Regions from separate parts of the Homo sapiens genome. Here region 1 is linked to region 2. Evidence: promoter capture Hi-C in 16 types of primary human blood cells and fetal thymus (Javierre and others, 2016). All regions are on one chromosome and are shown on one strand. The core of a region is centred on a gene start or on the middle of the fragment in contact, and the rest is flanking DNA. Distances in the headings are between cores, read along the strand shown. Region 1 has its middle 22 kb from the start of MIR573. Region 2 holds the start of SOD3 (superoxide dismutase 3).

What was found. The method cuts DNA at HindIII sites, captures the fragments that hold promoters and counts their contacts. A CHiCAGO score of 5 or more calls a contact.
Region 1: a contact is called between a fragment that was not itself captured here and the fragment with the promoter of SOD3 in region 2, in 2 of 17 cell types (endothelial precursors and M2 macrophages). The highest score is 6.6, in endothelial precursors.

Annotation. Positions count from the first base shown.
Region 1 is chr4:24,495,842-24,500,775 of GRCh38, reverse strand. No RefSeq gene overlaps it. Among named protein-coding and RNA genes, the nearest start is that of MIR573, 22 kb to the left of the region's middle. RefSeq lists an enhancer at 1-508. The HindIII fragment of the contact is 3,560 bases long and covers 1,172-4,731 here.
Region 2 is chr4:24,792,278-24,796,941 of GRCh38, reverse strand. SOD3 (superoxide dismutase 3) reads right to left here and starts at 1,369. Exons shown (of 2, transcript NM_003102.4): 1 at 1,291-1,369. The HindIII fragment of the contact is 8,707 bases long and covers 1-2,483 here.

The DNA.
Region 1 (4,934 bases), core at 1,702-4,201, 300 kb after region 2:
GGACACCAGTAATCATCTACTTCATTGCCAGCTGTCTCAGCTGAAAAGACAGAGGCTCTTCCTGGGAGCCCCGGTCCTGGGATGCATCAGCTGAGGTCTGCACTTGCCCCTGAGCCAAGCACTTCAGCCAGGGAGCTGGAACTTTGCTGACTGCCAGGCTGGGTCCTGCACCTCACTCTGGACAGGGGTAGAGCCCCACATGACTCATATGACCTGAGAGGAAGGGAGAAGGGGTTCCTTAAAGGAATATGGAGTGCCGCTGTTTCTGGCTCTGGAGCCAGGCAGTGGGATTTTGGGCAATTCATCTCACAATGCCTGTTTCCTCATGCATAAAATAGGAAGAACAATAATAATAGTATTCAACACACAGCGATGTTCTGAGTGCTGGAAGTATCTTAGCCCATTCAGGCTGCTATAATAAGACACCATAAACAGGTGGCTGATAAACAACAGAAATGTGTCCTAGTTCTGGAGGCTGGGAAGTCCAAGATTGAGGCACTGGCAGATTCAGTGCCTGCTTTCTGGTTTTTGCATGGCACCTTCTCACTGTGTCCTCATGTGGTGGAAGTGGCAAGCTAGCCCTCTGAGGCCACTTTTATTAGGGCACTAATCCCATGAATGTGGGCTCCCCTGTCACGATCTAATTCACCTCCCAAAGGCCCCACCTACCTCCTAATATTTAATATTAACACCTTGGGGGTTAGACTTTCAACATGTAAATTTTGGCAGGGGACACAAACATTCAGACCATAGCATAGAGTTAACACAATGTACTTAGAACATTCACCAATCCATGTAAAGTACTCCATAAATGCTTGCTATTAGTACAGCAAGCTCAATTTTTTTTTTTTTTTTTGAGACAGAATCTCAGTCTCACTCTGTCTCACAGGGTGGAGTCCAGTGGCGTGATCTCAGCTCACTGCAACCTCCATCCCCCTGGTTCAAGCAATCCTCCCACCTTGGCCTCCCCGGTAGCTGGGATTACAGGCATGTGCCACCACACCTGGCTAATTTTTATATTTTTTGTGGAGACTGGGGTTTCCCCATGTTGGCCAGGCTGGTCTCGAACTCCTGACCTCAAGTGATCTCCCTGCCTTGGCCTCCCAAATTGTTGGGACTGCAGGCGTGAGCCACCGCGCCCAGCCTCGATATTTTTGATACTGTAGAAGCTTTCCCTCCAACAGATTGGAACTGGTTGGTTAGTTAATAAAATGATGAATCTTTAAAAGTGTTACGCTCCTTCCATATTTAAGTTTAAAAGCATAAATAGGCCTGAGGCCATCTGGCAGGGCTGGGAGGAGGGCGAGGCAGGTCAGAAATAAGAGCACAACATTTAATGAGGCGCTTGCTCTCAGGTGCTGACCCTGCACTTGCATGGTCCTGAGGGCAGTGCCTTCTTAACCTTTGCACTCTAGGTGCCTCTCTTCTTGCCTTTCTGCTTTGCCATCTAGGTCTGTTGAGTAGCATTCCTTGTCTATCTTGTCTAAACCACACCCTGAAATAATTCATCTATAACCTCCAGTTTCAGTTTTTTAAAATTCCAGGAAGAACTTACAGACATTTGCAAAGCAGAATCCCGTATTCGTACCATTTTCTCCAATAGTTGATGGTTGTCTGGCCCATGCCAAATTCAACAGCATTTGTTTGAAGCAACTTGCATCTATTCAGTCATGCCAAAACATTCAACTTGGTTTTCATAGGAGCAAGAACTTCTTTTCCCATTCTTTTTTTTTTTTTTTTTCCTTTTCTGAGATAGAGTTTTGTTCTTGTCGCCCAGGCAACACTCCATGCATGTCACTCCATGCAATGGTGCAGTCGAGGCTCACTGCAACCTCCGCCTACCCAGTTCAAGCAATTCTTCTGCCTCAGCCTCCTGAATAGCTGGGATTACAGGCAATCACCACCACACCTGGCTAATTTTATATTTTTAGTAGAGACGGGGTTTCACCATGTTGGCCAGGCTAGTTTTGAACTCCTGACCTCAGGTAATCCACCTGCCTCAGCCTCCCGAAGTGATGGGATTACAGGCATGAACCACCATGCCCAGCTTCCCATTCATTTTTAAATAGGTTTTACAACATGTAATTAAACCGTAGAAGCAAATAAGTATAACTAGCATAGAAGCTCCTTGAGGACAGGACTTCTCTGTTCTTTATCACTGCAGTGTCTCCAGAGCTTAAAACAGTGTGTACACATCATAGGCGCTCAGATGTCTGTGCATGAATGAATAAACTGGCTTTGACAGGTTTGGGGAGCAAAGGGTTAATTCAATATGTGGGAATCCATGGACAAAGTCAGGTGGAGCCTGCCAGCTTCAGGTGTTTCAGGGGTCATGGGAATCATCATCATTTACAGAAGTCTACATGGTTTACAGTGAATCCAGCAGGGTAGTTAAGAGACGGTCAGTTGTGAAAGCTACTACCACATCATAAGTAAATATTTAAGGGAAGGATCCAGAAACATCTGTTTGTCTCTTTTGGGGAACAGGTGTGTCTTGGAGGGAGGGTATGGTAAGGGGGATGGCATTTGCATTTCAGCAGGTGAACATGCATCATTTGAAAAAACCTATTTAACATAATTATCATATTTTAAAAATACGATAAATGAAAAATACCTACTGCTTTCATAACACATTATAGAAAGTGAAGCTCAAGAAAATATAGTAGTGGGAACAGGCAGAAGCAGCAGCAATTCTAGACAGTAAGTCCCATGAAGGCAGCATATTATTGATGCCTGGCAAATTGTCCTGACTTAATCAATATTGTGGGAGAAAACAGATTCTCAATAAGAAGTGTACCTCTTAAGGGCAATGTAACTATGAAGGTGTAGGCTTGGAAAATGTCATTTCCCAATCAATATTTTAAAAGGCATCTTTTTAAAATATTGAAAAACCGTGTTTTAAAAACATAGCAATGTTTTTGGCTAGGCGCAGTGTCTCATGCCTATAGTCTCAGCACTTTGGGAGGCTAAGGCAGGTGGATCTCCTGAGGTCAGGGGTTCAAGACCAGCCTGGCCAACATGGCAAAAACCCATCTTTACTAAAAACACAAAAATTAGCCAGGTGTGGTGGTAGGTGCCTGTAATCTTAGCTAATTGGGAGGCTGAGGCAGGAGAATCCCTTGAACCTGGGAGGCGGAGGTTGCAGTGAGCTGAGATCGCACCACTGTACTCCAGCCTGGGCGACAAGAGGAAGACTCTGTCTCAAAATAAATAAATAAATAAAAATAAAAATAAAAACATAGCAATGGTTGTTCCAAATAAATCACAACAGGATTCTTTTTGGGTGCTTTCCCAATGTTATTTCCTCAGTGGGATTTTGTGGTCAGTTGATTCACCGGGTGAGTAAAGCTGATTTTTAGACTAACCACGGGGAATAGTTCCACGGGATGGAATTGCATTAGCATTTTGGCTCATGGAAATAGATGCGTATGGTAAGGTTCATAGAGACTGCAGCCTTTCACTGACCAAACAATTGATTGTATTTGTAGCCAATTTAAACTGGAGTATTTTCTGGAAGAGTCGGAGACTATGATGCTACACCATCCATTGCACAAACATTAGCCACAAAATGGTGGAAGTCACTTGGTCTGGCCTCCGCAAGGAGTCAGTCCTGGTCATTTCCTCCCGGCTGCCTCCGGTGGAAGGATATTCCACACACAGCTCCGTGGTATTTGTAGCACAAGCCCAAGTTTGATTATCCTAGTGGTAATTTCAAGTTCTTTGTTTCCTACCCTCCTTTTTAAACCTATTTCTTCCTAATCAGTTTCCTGAGGATATGAAACCTATTCCTTACACAAACCAGTTGAGCTCAATTTTTCCTTATCTAGGCTAAACCCCATTTTTGTGACTTTTCCAGAGATATTAAAATAAGCAATAACCACAAAACCAACAGCACCAAAACTAGCTGCATCTTTAGGACGGCACTGTGTTCTTCCTTGTTTTTCTTCTTTGCACGTGCTGTTCCCTCTGCTGCTGGGTGTGCACCCTTTAAACCTGCATCTCCCTGGGCTAATCACCGTGCCAACTCAACTCCTGCTCGTGCCTAAAGACTTACCTCAGTTAAAGAGCGATGCTCCAGACAACCGCCCTTGCTCCCCACACCAACAGAGGAAATTATTTTTATTTATTTATTTATTTTTGAGACAGAGTCTCACTCTGTCACCCAGACTTAAGTGCAGTAGGGTGATCTCGGCTCACTACAACCCCTGCCTCCCAGGTTCGAGCGATTCTGGTGCCTTAGCCTCCTGAGTAGCTGGGATTTCAAGTGCATGCCACCGCGCCCATTTAATTTTTGTATTTTTAGTAGAGATGGGGTTTTGCCATGTTGGGCAGGCTGGTCTTGAACTCCTGAACTCAGGTGATTCACCCTCCTCGGCCTCCCAAAGTGCTGGGATTACAGGTGTGAGCCACCATGACTGGCCATGTACTTTCGAAATATATAAAAAATGTTGATAAGATGCAGAGAAGAAAAATAAAATGCTGTCAAAAAACTGGACAATAAGACCTACCACTTACCCAGCCATCCAAACACCCATCTCTGAAACACACGTCAAGTCTTTGTGCCAGGTGCTGTGTGAAGTTCAGAGACATACAGGGACAAAAACAGTGTTTTGTAAAATGAGAATCTCAACTTGTCAAATAATTACATCAATAATTATGTACATCAACCTCTATCAAATAATTACATTGCTTGGTACGGGTCCTGTGATGGTTAATTTTTATATGTAAGCTTGGCTAGGCCCCAGTGCTCAGATATATAGTCAAACATTATTCCAGATGTTTCTGTGAAGGTATATGTTAGTTGAGATTTAACATTTAAATCAGTAGACTGTGAATAAGGAGATTACCCTCCATAATGTAGGTGAGCCTCATCTAACCAGGTGAAGGCCTTAAGAGAAAAAGACTGACCTCTCTGAGGGAGAAGGAATCCTGCT
Region 2 (4,664 bases), core at 120-2,619:
CCATCATCAAAGACACCTTCCTCCTAAGACAGCCCTGCCACTCAGAAGGGCTCTGCTGCTTAGAAAGTTCTCCCTAAAAGCACAGAGCAAAACCAGATTGTTTTGGGTGTGTCAGTGAGCTTTCTTTTTCAAGAATCCTTGGGAAATAAACATTTTAAGGAGATGTTTTTCTCTGAAACCAAAAGAAGAGCCAGGCATGGTGGCTTATGCCTGTAATCCCACCCCTTTGGGAGGATGAGACAGGAGAATCATTTGAGTACAAGAGTATGAGACCAACCTGGTAGAGACCCCCATCTCTAGCAAAAAAAAAAAAAAAAAATAGCTGGGTGTGGTGGCATGTGCCTGTAGTCCCAGTTACTCAGGAGGTTGAGGTAGGAGGATCGCTTGAGCCCGGGAGGTAGAGGCTGTAGTGAGCCGTGATAGTGATCGTGCCACTACATTCCAGCCTGGGTGCTGGGTGACAGAATGAGACCATGTCTCAAAAAAAAAAAAAAAAAAAAAAAAAAGAGAAGAAGGAGGAGGAGGAGGAAAAGGGGGAAAGAAAATTCTCCCTCAAACCCAGGTAAACTCTGACTTCTTGTTTCTTAAGCCTTTGACACCTCTTCCCCTCGGGACCAACTTGATTCTTCTCCCACAGCCTCTTGCTCAGTTTGAGCTGTGAATGACCAAGTGCCTTTTTAAGGGCCTCCTTTGTACGTGGATCTGGAAGGGAGGACGGTGTTATCAGAGAAAGAGGACAGTGTTATCAGAGAAAGAGGACAGGGGCCCTTATCCTGAACCAAATAGAGGCACCAAGCCTTTATCTCCTTCCTGGGTCTGTATCTGGGAAGAACCTGCCCCTCTTGAGCCTTGGGTGTGTTTCATCCCTCAGCTGTCTCCTAGAAGGAGCTCTTGCTGGGAGCCTGAGCTGGCCAGGGCCTCTCTGCTTTCCTAAGGAGGTGGCTTTTTAGAGTACCTGCTGTCCCATAAGTGGCTCCCGACACCAAAGCCATGCAACATCTAGAAAGGCCCCCTTTCTCGTCACTCCAGATTCCTTTTCCTAACACTAAAATCCTCTTGGACTGGTCTTTGCAGATCCACAGGAGGAACGGTTTCTTCCTCCCCTCCTTGCCTTCCTCCCCGCTCACTCCACCTCCCCACTAACCCCTCAGAGCAGCCAGGGAAAGTACATTTCCTTCCCAAGAAGATGATCCAATTTGTTCCCAAGAAGAGGCCCGTTGCCCCAACCCAGCTTCAGACTCAATAAGCACACTCCGAGAAGAACAAAATGAACCTCAACTTAGCACCCACCTTTCCAGCTCCTCCAAGAGAGCTTTCTCTCCTGAAAAGAGAGCTGCACCCAGCCAGCCCAGGAACGCAGGCTGTCCCTGGAGCCTGGGCTGTTAGCGCGAGTGCAGGAGGCCAGCCCAGAGGAGTGGTCAGCGTGAGGGAGCCAGTCATTGGGCCAGTTCAGGGAGGAAAAGCAGGCCAGACCTCCCCGGGTTGTAGAATTGCTTCGCCTCCACCTCCTCCCGCTCTGTCCCCACCTCCTCTGCCCCTCCCATTTTTGGGTTTTCGGGCCAAGGATTCCATTCCGCGACTTCACCGGCTTGTAGCCAGTGACCTTCAGCACACAGCAGGGGAATAAAAATGAGAAAGAAAATCGCCTGTTTGGAGAGGTGTACAATGACCTCTTTATTGAGAGGCCCTTTGCTTTTCTGTAAGTCAATAACTTATTGACTTATTTTTGCTGCATGGAAATGGGCACCTTGCAAATGTGCGTGGCATTTGCTCCAGAGCTGTGCTGTCATACCTATGAGAGCAGAGCAGCGGGTGGGTCGTGATGACACACTCAGGCTGCAGAGTCCCAGCCTTGTCACTTCCTATCTGTGTACGCCTGAAGCAGCTGCACCACTCCCTGCACCTCCTTTTCATCATCTGTAAAATGGGGGTGTGAGGCTGTCCACCCCGCACGCCCACCGTGAAGATCCAATGAGATCATTACTCGCCCAGTGACAACACAGTGGCTGGCACTAGCCGCACTCATAAGTAATCATCATTGTCATTGTCGTTACCGTTATTATTAAAGAGATGAAGGAGTCTTTTTAAAAAATGTGTTGTCTGGGAGAACTAGGAGTGTTTCCCTCCCGACGTCTGTCCTTTTTTTGCTGCCATGAACTTTTCTCAATCATAGCAGCCCTTTCCAAAAATAGAAGCTCTTCTTTCCCAGAAAAGCCCATGTGGGAAAAACCAGGCAGCCTGCTTGCTGGCCTGCCCGTCCTCCTGCATTCCTGCAACAAATGTTTATTGGGTGCTCATCCATTCCAGTCACCATGCTGTATGCCGGGCACCCACAGCTGCATGAGTCACCTTGGGGGTTCATACTCTGGGGACGGAGACAACAACGTCAGTAAATGCATCCAGTACAGAGTGGGGAGCGCAGCGACGAAGAATGAACAGGGCCTCGTGAGGTCCCAAACACCCGTTTCGGTGGCAGGAAAGCTTATAAAAAATCTAAATCTCTGGATCCCACCCCAGGATGGGTGACTTAGTTACCAGCAGGAGCTTCCTAGAATCATCTTGGAAAAACTCAAACTAATGATCTTTATCCAGGGACAGGCATTCTGCGAGATAAGAGGGAGACTTCCCAGAACTGAGACTCCAGCCCTTCCACCCTACCGTCCTTCCTTCTGGCCCGCTGAGAACTCAGGCACCAGTAGCTCAGTCTTGCACCTCTGCATTCTGTTGGTAGGCGTAGTTATCCTCAACTAATGAGTTTTCAGAGTTCCCCATGCCACCCACCACCCCACCCCCACCCTGCAACAGTCTAGTTCCTTATTGTGAATCTTTCTTCCCATTTTTAAAACATTTATATTTTCATTCAGTTCTTGAAATCCTAATTATATACATTCATAGCTACTATTTTAAATGGCACTTGCTTCACTTGGCCTAATTTTATTTCGTTTAAGGTCCAAGAAAGCACGTCTCCGTTCTGGTATTCTAGGACTTGTGCTAAAGCCTAGATTTACTTTCATTTTGATGGCATTCTAGAGGAAATCTGCCTTTTTCTCGCCACCGCCCCCAACCTCCCCACCATGGCAACATTCATTCCCTCTTCCTTTGGTAACAACATCCCAATTTCCTTTCTGAGAAACCACTATACTTTCAGTCCAGCAGGTGGTGTTGACTTCATCTCCTGCTCCAGAGGTAGCTTGTGGCTTAGGTATGATAAATCGTACTATTGCACTGGTTCAGGGATGATCCACCTTCAGAGCCAATGAGATGCAATGCCACTTTTCACTGGGACTGTTGAAAGAGATGCATCCTCTCTTTCTTACTGGACTTGAAACTGGAGAAAAAAGGCTGGAGTTATTGCAGCCATCATGCTCCACTAAGGGAGAAGCTGTCTGAGGATAAGGCCAATGCAGAAGGCTGTGGAATAAAAGTAGAGTGAGAGCTCAGTGCAGTGGTATACGCATGTGTAGTCCCAGCTACTAGGAAGGCTAAGGCAGGAAGGTTGCTTGAGCCCAGGAATTCAAGGCTATAGTGTGCTATGATCACTTCTGTGAATATTCCACTGCACTCCAGCCTGGGCAATGTAGCAAGACCCTGTCTCTAAAAAAAAAAAATGGTAGAGTGAAATCTGAACCCACTGGCATGGGTTCAGATGCTCTATTTTCATTATATGAGTCGATACATTCTCATTTTGCTTAAGGTGTTTAGGTTGAGTTTTCTGAAGTTGCAGCTGAACACTTTATGAAGCACTTTCTCATATAGTATCGTATTTAATGCTTGCAATACTTTTTGTGGGGTGGATATTAATTTGGCAACTTTGTTTATAAGAAAATAAAGTCCAGTAAGAAAAGGTAATGGACCCCAGGTTGGAGAGGTAGAAAATGGCAAAGTCAAGATTCAACCCTAGGACTTTGATTCCTAAGCTTGGATTCTTAATCATTATGCTTTACTACCACCTAACCTAATGAGAAGATGAAAACAAAGTTAGAAACAAGTAACAGAGGAGTCAGAGGAGTTCACATTTCACAGTGATCTCTGTAACATCAGTGACTGCCATGCAAGCGAGACATTGAACAATTGACCTCTTATTCTTTTCACATTTGTTAATGTATAATACACTGGAAAGTCAAATGAGCATTGTCAAGCACCAGTTTTAGGAAGTGCGTTGAAAAGCACTCTTCCCACGTGGAAGAGCTCTCTGCTAGAGAACTTTGTACATTTCGTACAGGAATGCCAGTTGTAAATAGCTTCCTTTTCATGTGTACAGAAAACTGATAGACTTAAATTCCACCAGGAAATAGAGTGGTTACCCTGAGAAAATTTTTGAAAACAATTAAGGTTTCAGGTTAACCTCCCTAGAAAGCCAGGTTTTGTGTGATCACTATTTACCCAACCAGATTACTTCAAACACATCTGAAAAACTAACAGTATGTTTCGCCTGCCCAGGGTTCTCCCAGAAGCCCCCCGGGGAATTAAAGTAAAACCAGGGAACTGCATAGTACAATCTTGAATCTTATAATTTTATCTAGAAACATCTGGTTAACAGGAAAAAGTGGATCCTCACTGGCAGGGTGCGCAGGAAGAAAAGAAGCATCATTCTTATTATGAATAGGAATAAAATAATGGGCCAGACACAGTGGCTCACACCTGCAATCGCAGCAATTTGGGAG